2 separate regions of the Homo sapiens genome follow, and region 1 is linked to region 2. Evidence: promoter capture Hi-C in human tissues and cell types (Jung and others, 2019). All regions are on one chromosome and are shown on one strand. Each heading gives the region's core, a stretch centred on a gene start or on the middle of the fragment in contact. The rest is flanking DNA. Distances are from core to core; before and after follow the strand shown. Region 1 overlaps RNF220 (ring finger protein 220). Region 2 holds the start of RNF220 (ring finger protein 220).

Region 1 (5,252 bases), core at 1,117-3,616, 55 kb after region 2:
CTCCCAGCCTGAGCAGCAGAGTGAGACACTGTCTCTTAAAAAAAAAAATAACAAGAAACTTAAATATTCTTATGAAATAGCCTCTGCACAGACTCCATTGTTAGGATTTTTCCAGTTTTTTTTTTTTTTTTTACTAATATCATAATGGTTAGGACAGTCTCTCAAGCCAGACCACCTGGGTTCAAATCCTGGATGTACCATTTCCTAACTTGGGTAAGTTGCTTAGCCTTTTTGTGCCTCAGTTTCCTCAGTAACCACTTCAGAGAGTTATTGTGAGGATGAAATGGCTATTTTATATAAAGCCTTAATATACTGCCTGATACATAGTAAACATTCAATAAATGTTAACTGTTTTCTAGTTGTCTTACCCACACCCAATTCAATAGCATTTAAAAAAGAGATTTACCTTTATGAAACTTCCCAAAGTATCTGATTTAGTGTTCTTAGAAACAACAGTTCTCTTTCTTTTCGCACGATTGGTTTACATAATGTTTAATTAAATTATGTAAATGTAATAACTACTACCACAGGAATAAAGAAATTTTGGAACAATCACAGTGACTTACACTCAGCTGGTAAAAGTGGAAGTAGTATATGTGTGTGGAAGAGTGGCCTGCCAGCCGTGAGCATTCAGAGCACTGTGTCCATTAACTGGAACATATTACAGCTGGAATGGAAAGTTTTAGTTAACCCAGTAAGTCAGTAGGGAAGAGGCTGGTTAAGAGAGCATCCACTCTTGGACGACAGCCTCTACCTTGCAGCTTCCTCTCTCCCTTGCTCCTGTTATAACTGTGCTTTCATCTCATTGACTGCCTAGATCCAAGCCAGACCTTTAATGTCCCAAAGCACCAAAAAAGAGAATGTTCCCTTATGTAATTTAAAATGAAAACAATTCTAACTTGTAAAATAAGTGTAAGGAAGTTCAATAAATTTCTGACTTTTACCATGGTGATTCTTTTGGTGGGTTTTTTTTTAATTTCAAGGTTTTTCTAAAAATATGTTGTGGGGGTTCACTTTGCTTTTTGGATGCCCTAAGAATGTGTTTATCTATTGAGTAATCCAGCACTGCCTTTGACGCTTCCATTTCTTCCCAACCTCTCAGCCTTCTCCCAGAATTACTTCCTTTCCTACTGAGCCTACATCTCATGATCCACCACTTTTAAATGCTGTCTTGCCAATGTCTTCTACCCAATTTCCTTACACACTTGTCCTCACACAGAACCCCCCCTAATAAACCCCCCAAAACTGGTATACTGCATTTGAGATAACTTTGTAGCTTCCAGGTAAAAATGTCCAAAAAGTAGTCAGACACAAAATCTGAAACCCAGGAGACGAAGTAAGGGTAGATAAAGGAATTTGGGGATCTTCGAACAAAAAAGTGAGATTTGATCCTGTGCAGGTGGACCACATGGCCAAAGAAAGGCATGTAGAGTGGGAAGAGCAAGAGCTGGACTGAGAACTCTGGGAACACCACTGTGTAAGGGGTAGGTGGAGCGGAACTGCCGATGAAAGAGGGAATATCCACATGCAAGGAAGCCTGAATCCAAGGAAGGAGAGCTTCAGGAAGGAGTGATTATGGATGTCAAGTGTATTAAAGAGGTGAGGTCAGATTAGACAATACCTAGAACCTAGTAGGTTCTCAATGCATACTTGCTAACTGATGGATTCACCAAGACCGAAACAGTCAGGAAGTCACTGATGATCTTGGTGCTTAGTTTGAGTTTTCCTAAAAGTGGACCCTGAGACGAGGATTAGTCTATTTGAAAGATGAAGAACACTGGTGTGTGTGGGAGAGGGGGATGAACAGGGAGGGGACGGCCAGTAAAGGGTGAATTAAGCCAGCAGCCACCCTGGGCAATTATAGCTTAATCCCAACGGGAAAGTTCAGGGAGTCAGTGCAGAACACCCACCTCATCGTTCCTCGTCTCACGGGGTGAGGGAGCTCTTTCAGGTCATTGGTTGAGGGCTGTTCTTAGAGGGCATTAATTCACTGACATTTCCAGCCTGCTGCTTGGGCAGCAGAACAGACCCCGGCTGTGAGAGAAATCCCTCAGGTGAATGAATGCAGGTACCAGCGCCTGGAAGCCTGGGGTTCACTGAAGTAGTAAGGGCAGGGGATACTGGTAGGGCAGTGACATCCTCTAACACCTGGTACCTGCAGTTTCACTGGCAGAAGCTAGACTGCTGTGGAGCAGTAGGAAATTGGAAGTGAGAAGTGGAGGAAATGGGTGTAGGTAACTATTTCAAGATGTTTGGCTGAAAAAATAAGATAAAAAATATGTCAGTAGGCTGATTCTGCGAAGGGTAGGAAAAAACAGGGTAAAATGGGAGATCGGAGAGTTCTTCGATCATTGAGGGTTCATTGAGGGTTCTCACAAAACTTCCCTGTTTTTAGTTAGGGGAGAGGAGGTCAGCTGCACTAACCACTTCTTACTTCAGGATCCTCTTTTAGCTTCCCCAGACAAGCGCCCAGTGTTTCCTCTGCTAGACTTTGGGTCCTGGGTTCCCCAGCTAAAGAGGCCGTGCTGGTACAGCCTCACATGCTAGCAATTCTAAGCCTGAAGTGCCAGAGGAATAGATTGAATATAGCTGCAGAGCAGACTGGGACACGTGTGGAACACGGTGGCCAGATTCTGAACCCTAGGAGAACCACAAGGTCAGAGGAGACCTTCTGAGGGGTCTGCCGCTGCTGAGGGACTCCTTGCATTCCTGGCCTTCCCCCTTCCCTGTCAGCACATCTCAATAATTAGTTTGGTTTGGGTGTAACAGACCTGCCCCATAGAAGGAACCTTCCTGGGACATTCATCTAAATAACTCTTTGATTGATGTCTCTCTCTTAGCTAAAGCTTAAGCTCCCGGGGGCAGGGACGGTATTCATTTCAGCACTATTGTATCCCTAGAGTCTGGTGCCTAGTCAGTACTCAATAAATATTGCATATTTAATGCAAAAATACCCAGCAACAGGTAATGCTGTCTATTGATGGTGCCTACACCAAGAAAAAGGTAAAACCAGGATTTTTATCCTTCTAGAAGTGGATTTTCTATGCAGTTAATGAATTTAAACTTACAGGTCCCTTACTTGCATGAACTCCTTTAAAGACCCTGGAAGAGGCCTTAGTGATATTTTTACATGGTTACATTTTTTCATGTTGCAAAAATAAAATACTTTAATCAAAATTAAGACTCTTGTTTTCCGTCTGAGTTCATATTTCCCCTCCTGGAGCGGCGTTGGAGTGGCTGTGGATGTTTTGGTGATCTGTTTCAGGAAAAGCAGAGTTGGGAGTATATTTTATATTTAGTTTATTTGAGTATATTTTGTATTTAGTTGATGCATCTGTTTATGTGGTTTGCGGTCTCTTCTGTGTAGAGTTAACTTACTCCTGCCTGTCCTGGTATATAAATGGCTCTCAGGAGTACTGCTACTGCCTACTATGCTAATTAACTGGGTCAGGCCATGAAGGTGCATGATGAGAGCTTGTCAGGGGACATGAATGTGTCCTATGATGCTCTGCAATGGAAGAGAAACAAAGCTTAAAATGTATGGATCCAGAAACTAGTCCTCACATATGTAAAATTGTAAGTGAAAATTTTAGTTCTTGTTAATGGCTGGTCAAAATGAAACCTCGCATCTGTCAGGAATACATCTTAATGCAGTGTATACAATTGTAAATGTATCATATTTTTTTCTTTTCTTTTTTCTTTGTTTTTTTTTTTTTTTTTTTTTGAGCCAGAGTCTTGCTCTGTTGCCCAGGCTGGAGTGCAGTGGTGCCATCTTGGCTCACTGTGACCTCCATCTCCCAGATTCAAGCGATTCTCCTGCTTCAGCCTCCCAAGTAGCTGGGATTACAGGGGCACACCACTATGCCCGGCTAATTTTTTTTTCTTGTATTTTTAGTAGAGATGTGGTATCACCATGTTGGCCAGGCTCATCTCAAACTCCTGCTCAAGTGATCCGCCCGCCTCGGCCTCCCAAAGTGCTGGGATTACAGGTGTGAGCCACCACGCCTGGACATATATATATTTTTTAATGGGAATCACATGAAATGGAATTTATTAAAATTCCTGTGTTTATAGTGTATAAGTCTGTAGCAATACTACTAACAATGAGTGCATTCTTATGTGAAGTATATACACATCTCCAAAATATTGACCAAAGGTAACATAAAACTCATAATATGTCGCTATAACCAGGACACCAATAATAAGCTGTAAAAGAGTATCAATAAAGTCTGAGAATATTAAGGAAAATTTGAAAGGCCATGAAATCTTACAACTCCTATATGAAAGAAACTTGATAGAGGTTTCCCCAAATTTCACATTAATCCTTGACATTTATATAACAGTACTAGTAAGGGGTTTTGAAGTGGAAAGAAATTCTCTAAGCTATCAGTTATAAACAAATTTTGGTCAACAATGGTAGAAAAAAGACAGGATTTTCTATTTTCTTTATAGAAAAATGAAGTATAGATGCTTCAAAATTGTTCACATGAAGAGTCAGAGTCCACAGCTTAGAAAATACAAGAAAGGCCGGGCACGGTGGCTCACGCCTGTAATCCCAGCACTTTGAGAGGCCGAGGTGGGCAGATCACAAGGTCAGGAGATCGAGACCATCCTGGCTAACATGGTGAGACCCTGTCTCTACTAAAAATACAAAAATTAGCCAGGTGAGGTGGCAGGCGCCTGTAGTCCCAGCTACTCAGGAGGCTGAGGCAGGAGAATGGCATGAACCCAGGAGGCGGAGCTTGCAATGAGCTGAGATTGTGCCACTACACTCCACCCTGGGCCACAGAGCAAGACTCCATCTCAAAAAACAAAAAAAGAAAATACAAGAAAGGCCGGGCGCAGTGGCTCACGCCTGTAATCCCAGCACTTTGGGAGACTGAGGCGGGCAGATCACCTGAGGTCGGGAGTTTGAGACCAGCCTGACCAACATGGAGAAACCCCGTCTCTACTAAAAATACAAAATTAGCCAGGTGTGGTGGCACATGCCTGTAATCCCAGCTCTTGGGAGGCTGAGGCAGAAGAATCGTTTCAACCCGGGAGGCAGAAGCTGCAGTTAGCTGAGATCGCACCATTGCTCTCCAGCCTGGGCAACAAGAGCAAAACTCTGTCTCAAAAAAAAAAAAAAGAAAGAAAGAAAATACAGGAAATAAGCACTTAGAAGTGTATCAATTAATTTAAAATTATGTCATTGGAATATTTTTATGATGTTTCTCATTTTCCTCAACCTTTAAAATTTTGTAATTGTTGTG
Region 2 (5,524 bases), core at 749-3,248:
CTTGACTTCATGAAGTTTACAATCCAGCAGGAAATAATAATTTAGTGGAAAGAATAGAGCCTAACATAATAAATGCTGGTGTATGAATGAATGATTAAACATGGATTAGAAGTTCCTCAACAGGCCAGGCGTGGTGGCTCACCCCTGTAATCCCAGCACTTTGGGAGACCGAGACAAGCGGATCACTTGGGGTCAGGAGTTTGAGACCAGCCTGGCCAACATGGTGAAACCGTATTTCTACTAAAAATTATTTGGGCATGGAGGGGCATGCCTGTAATCCCAGCTACTTGGGAGGCTGAGGTAGGAGAATCGCTTGAACTCGGGGCGGAGGTTGCAGTAAGCCAAGATCACACCACTGCACTCCAGCCTGGGCGAGAGAGTGAGATTCCATGTCAAAAAAAATAAATAAATAAAAATAAAGTTCCTCAACAAATAATCCTGATATCACGAATTATAGAAATAGTTGTAAATGTAGAACTCTAAGTGATCAAATTAACAATTTATTTAGAGTTGCCAATTAAAATTTTAAAATACCAACAGCACACATATACATAAACATACTTAATATTTAGATGCTACCTTAATGTTAAACATAAGTAAAAAGGACAATGAAATAATAGCAAGAATGAGATTTTGAGTCTCATTCTTTTTAGACAATTTATAATCCTATGTGGTTCTCTGTAAAGTGGATTATCAGTGTGTACTCCATTTCTCCCCACCCTCCCTTTTTTTTTTCCAGATGAGAAATCTGAGGTTTTAGACACTTAACTACAAAACAAAAGAATGACTTTTTTTTTTTTTTTTTTTTTTGTCACCCAGGCTGGAGTGCAATGGTGTGATCTCGGCTCACTGCAACTTCCGCCTCCCGGGTTCAAGCGATTCTCCTGCCTTGGCCTCCTGAGTAGCTGGGATTACAGGCGCATGCCACCACGCCCGGCTACTTTTTGTATTTTTAGTAGAGACAGGGTTTCACCATGTTTGTCAGGCTGGTCTTGAACTCCTGACCTCTTGTTCCGCCCGCCTCGGCCTCCCAAAGTGTTGGCATTGCAGGCGTGAGCCACCGCGCCCGGCCAGGAATGACTTCTTAAACCAGGATTTGATTTTGGTTGAACTTTGCTTTCAGAACTAGAACTACCTGCTATCCAAGACTTGTTAACCACGTTTTCATGGGCAAATTACAAAACCCTTTCAACCCCAGTTTCCTCTTCTATAAACTAGTGGTAATATTATTATCTCCAGAATTAATCTTAGGAGTAAATGAAATTATGTAAAGGCATTTAGTCTCATAACCGGGCTCCTAGAAAGCACTCAGGAATGTTAGTTCTCTATCCATTTCCCCTGTTTATCTTTGTGTTTGATGAATTATAGGATGATATGAAATGATCTGAAATGAACTGTAATATAAACATCAATAAAACACCAATAAAAAATTTTATTCTCACATCTGGATGCTATACTAGGCCTTCACCTCCTCCAAAAGTTACAGTTTTATTAATATTCATTTATTATTTATTATTATAGTCAAAGACCCAGAGAAGCATTCCAGGAACAAAGCAGCAGGTAAGATTTTTCTGGGAAAAGACAGAGATTTTGAGGGACCCAGGATTTGGGGGTCATTTAAGCAGCAGTGGATGTCAGTCTTCAAGCTTTGCCCATTTACTCTTGGTCCCTTTTGGTTCAGGAAAGGAAGAACAACAAGCACGAAACCATTCACTGAGACCTTTGCGGGTGGGGGAGGAGGGATGTAAACAAAAGCCAACGCTCTCTTTAGTTCACAATGGCTCGCGACCCCAAGACTTCCAAGCTCTTTGGTGAGGGCCAGCAGGTCTGTTCTCCAGGAGTGCCCTGGGTCTGGACTTCATTTCCCAGAGTCCCTTAGTGCCCTAATGTATTCAGTGCTCAGAGTGCCTGTATGTGTGTGAGTGTGAGAGAATGTGTGCGTGCGTGTGTGTGTGCGCGCGTGTGTGTGTCTCCGAGTCCCTGGGAGAGTGGAGGCTCATTCACTGATTAGATCCAGCGCTGAGAGGCAGCACTGCTCCTTCTCTCACGCCAACTGAGTCTCTTGATCTGTACATGCAATCCCAGGCAGCTCGCGAACACAAACCCGGGGCCAGCCGCCTACTGCTGCTGCTGCTGCTGCCGCTGCCGCCGCCGCCGCCGCCGCTGCCTCCGCCGGCTCTGCGAACCCGGGACTTTTCATGCACCACACTCTCCGCCTGCTTCCCTCCGTGTCCTGAAAAGTGCGACCGTTCTCCCAAGGAATTTCCACGGCAAGTATGGAGATCAGAAAGGGGTGTGGACGTGTGTGCGTACCCAAGAGGGGTGGGTGCGAGGGCGGCCGGCTTGTTCAGGAACCTGGCTAACTTTCCGGGTCCGTTTCCTAGGGATTCGGGCGGTTCCCTCTGGACGGGGGCAGGGACTGGGACTCGGACTGGCGCGTCTTGGATCATCGCGACGGAGCCTCTCGGCATCGGCGCCCTGCGCGCTCCGTGCGCTGCCTCGCTCAAACTTTCCGTCTTGAGTTTTCCTTAATGTGTTTTATTTGGGGAGGGGGGGAGGTGCAAGGGGGAGGGACCAGACGCGGGAATTGGACAAGTTGGGAGGGTGAGGGCACTGCAAGGGAAGGGAGCAGGACTTCTTTTCTCCGTCTCTTAATAAGCCCCATTCCCACTTTGTTCGGGTCGATATCGAGAATGCCTTCTCGCCGGGCTCTCTGGTGCACCCCCCGGTGATTTCCGGGCTCCCCTATGTACCCCGCGTTGATTTCCGGCGAGGCCAGGGCTGGGTGGTACTCAGTGGGGAGCCCGAGGCGGCGGGCGGATGGAGAAGGGGCGAGCCGAATGAGAAACTACCCCGACAGCCTCCACCCCACACACAGCCGGCTCCGCGGGATACCCGGGGAGTGGCTGTTTAGCCCTGGACCCCGGGTGCTCGGCTGACTTTTTCCTAGCGGGGGCGGGTGTGAAGGGTGTGGAGGGAGGGAGGTGGGGTAGGATGGATGGATCCTCTGCGGGCAGGAAGGAGGCAGGTGCTAGCATAGAGGCGGACCGTTCTAAACGCCACCGGTAAACTCCCCACTCCTCTGGGCTGGACCGGCCTGGCCGTAGAGTAGCCCGACACGTGGGATCTCCCGGGATTTTCGGGGTCGGGACCCCCTCTCCCAGCGGTTCTACTGAGCAAGGCGGGAGGACGATCGTGGAGACGAGGGCTACTTGACTACTCTACTTGTAGTTTTATTTTTATCTTAGACCTGCCTTAAACTGAGTAACAATTTCTCTTCTGACTTAAGAACAAAACTTTTCAGTGAGCACGCCGGTCGCTGCGGTCCTGCGGCCACTGCCGCCGCGCTTGTCAGCCCGGGCCGAGCGACCTTCTCTGCCCGGAACCCAGCCCCGCCACCGCACTCCGGAGCCTCCGGCCTCCCCCACCCCACCCCCGCCCCCCAACCCGGGGCTTTTCAGGGCTCGGCCTGGGCGTTTCGCCTTTGTGCTTTGTAAGAGAAAGCCTTTTCTTCCAGGGCACAACAAACTTGGGCGGAGAGCTTCCGTGTGGCCCCCCGGGCGAGGCCGCCCACGGTGGTGAGGCCATCCGAGGGGATGCCCGGTTCATCCCCCAGTCCAGGAGCCTCTCCGAGAGCTCGCGGCCCAGGTCGACCCCAGCTGGCGAGGGCGCGCAGGAGTCCCGAAGTAGCGGGGACTAGGGCAGCCAGGAGGCAGGGGGAAAGCTCTCGCTTCCCGTTAAGCACACCCTGCATTCTCGGGTCGTGGATGCAGCTCCAGCGGAGAGCCCGTGTTCCGGCCCTGAGCCAGGCGCGCGTCGCACTGGGTGGGTGCATGGGGCCCGGGCCATAGGTGTGGGGGCACAGCCCTACCTGGCCGGCCCGGGTCGTCTGGGGTCTGCGCCGGCCCACTGGCCCGGGAGCCGCCGAGGGGGAGAGCACCGCACTCGCTGCCCACGACGCCCAGCAGCCACATCTTGCCTCTCGCCTCCGCTCCGGACTCGGCTTGAGGGGCAAAGGGGAGAGAAAGGAAAAATAAAGAAAAAAAAGGGCGGCAGTGAGGAAGCAGCGAGGGGACTGGGGGGAGCAGAGTGGGCAGGGGGGCTTTGCCTTGCCTGGCCTCCTCTTTCCGTCTCGCGGGCTCTTCCTGCAAAGGGGAATGAGCAGAGGGGGGAAAGGCAGAAAGAGCGTCGAGGAAGAGCGGTGCTGGCGTCTTCCGTGCCGATCCCTCCTGGCCCGCAGAGACCCGGCAAAAGTGGCGTGAGTTCGCTTGCTGCGCTTCGAGGCAAGGCTGGGGAAGGCCGAGGACGGGGCGGCGCCGCGTCGCGCCGCTGGTGGCCGACAGGGCCGGGGCCGGGCGCGGAGCGAGCGGGGACACACACCTGTTCTGCGAGCCGCGCGGTGTGCGGCGGCCGGACGGCCGCGGTGCGGGCCGCAGAACCCTCCCTCCCGCACTGCGCATCCGCAGTCCAGGAGCTGGAAGGGCCCGGCAGCCCCGCGCCGGTCCGTATTTGCAGGAGAAGCGGGAGTGGAGGAGTCCGCGGCTGCCCGCTGAAGCGGTGGTGCGCGCGGCGGCGGGACCCGGGTGACCCCCGGGGCGGGGCTGCTCGGGGGCTGGAGGTCCTTGGACTTTGGTCGAAGGCTGGCAGCTCTGAGCCCCTGCCCCGCGGGCCCCGCGCGGCTGCGGACCAGGGGCCCTTGCACGTGTCGGTTCTTCCTGGACTGGCGCTTTGGTTGCCCAAAGTTGGGCGCAGATTGTTTCGTGCGGAGGTTGTTGGGACCCAGAGTATTCTATATACAAAGGCAACCGAGAGCCGGAGGGAGAGGTCGGGCCAAAGAGTAGTGGGCTCGGCTCCGCGTTGGGCCCAAGTTTATGTAGGTTTCGCCTTCACCTCTTCTTCCCCCGTTTTCCCTAAAAGAGTTGATTTTTTTTCCCAGTCGAGACTCTTCCGAGCTGAATAATGCACCCGCTCGCTGAGCCAGTATCCCGCGACCCCGCACTCTCGGACTGGCCCGGGCTGTCTCGGATTCGCACCCTTTGGCCAAGCTGGGCCTGAACCCGGGTCCAAATCTGGGACCATACCCGGCCATGCCTGAAACACAGGCGTCGGCCCTAGCCCGGGAACTGTGTTAGCCTTATGTTCCCTGAGCTCTCGCATATGGTGGTAAAATTTCTGTTAGAGCGGTGTTTCCAAATACCCCCTGGGCATTTGGTGTGCGGGAATTCTCTTCAAGCGAAGAAGTCTGTGAACTTAAAAAAAAAATTTTTTTCCTGCGTTCTTAACAACCCCCCACTACTCTGCCTCATTTCCCATTGTTCTTTGCTTTTTAAGTTCCTTGTTAATTTTTTTAAAAGTTTATTTATGCAAAGGAAAAATATCGTTTAATTTGTTCTATTATTTTAATTCCTGGCTTTTGGAAACGGTTCAGAGACCACAAAACTGTCACCTGTTGTAATAAGCAGAGGAGTGTTGTGTGTGCATTTTAATTGCCAGCAGAGCCGTAGTTTGGTGGGCGCCCTGAGCT

What was found. Contacts are between HindIII fragments. The study calls those that stand out against the background at their distance.
Region 1: a contact is called between a fragment that was not itself captured here and the fragment with the promoter of RNF220 in region 2, in 3 of the 25 tissues and cell types used here (adrenal gland, hippocampus and neural progenitor cells).

Annotation. Positions count from the first base shown.
Region 1 is chr1:44,458,222-44,463,473 of GRCh38, forward strand. All of the region lies in intron 2 of RNF220 (ring finger protein 220), which reads left to right. Among named protein-coding and RNA genes, the nearest start is that of RNF220, 56 kb to the left of the region's middle. The HindIII fragment of the contact is 4,153 bases long and covers 291-4,443 here.
Region 2 is chr1:44,403,257-44,408,780 of GRCh38, forward strand. RNF220 (ring finger protein 220) reads left to right here and starts at 1,999. Exons shown (of 15, transcript NM_018150.4): 1 at 1,999-2,274. RefSeq lists enhancers at 2,892-3,414, 5,181-5,524. The HindIII fragment of the contact is 10,637 bases long and covers 157-5,524 here.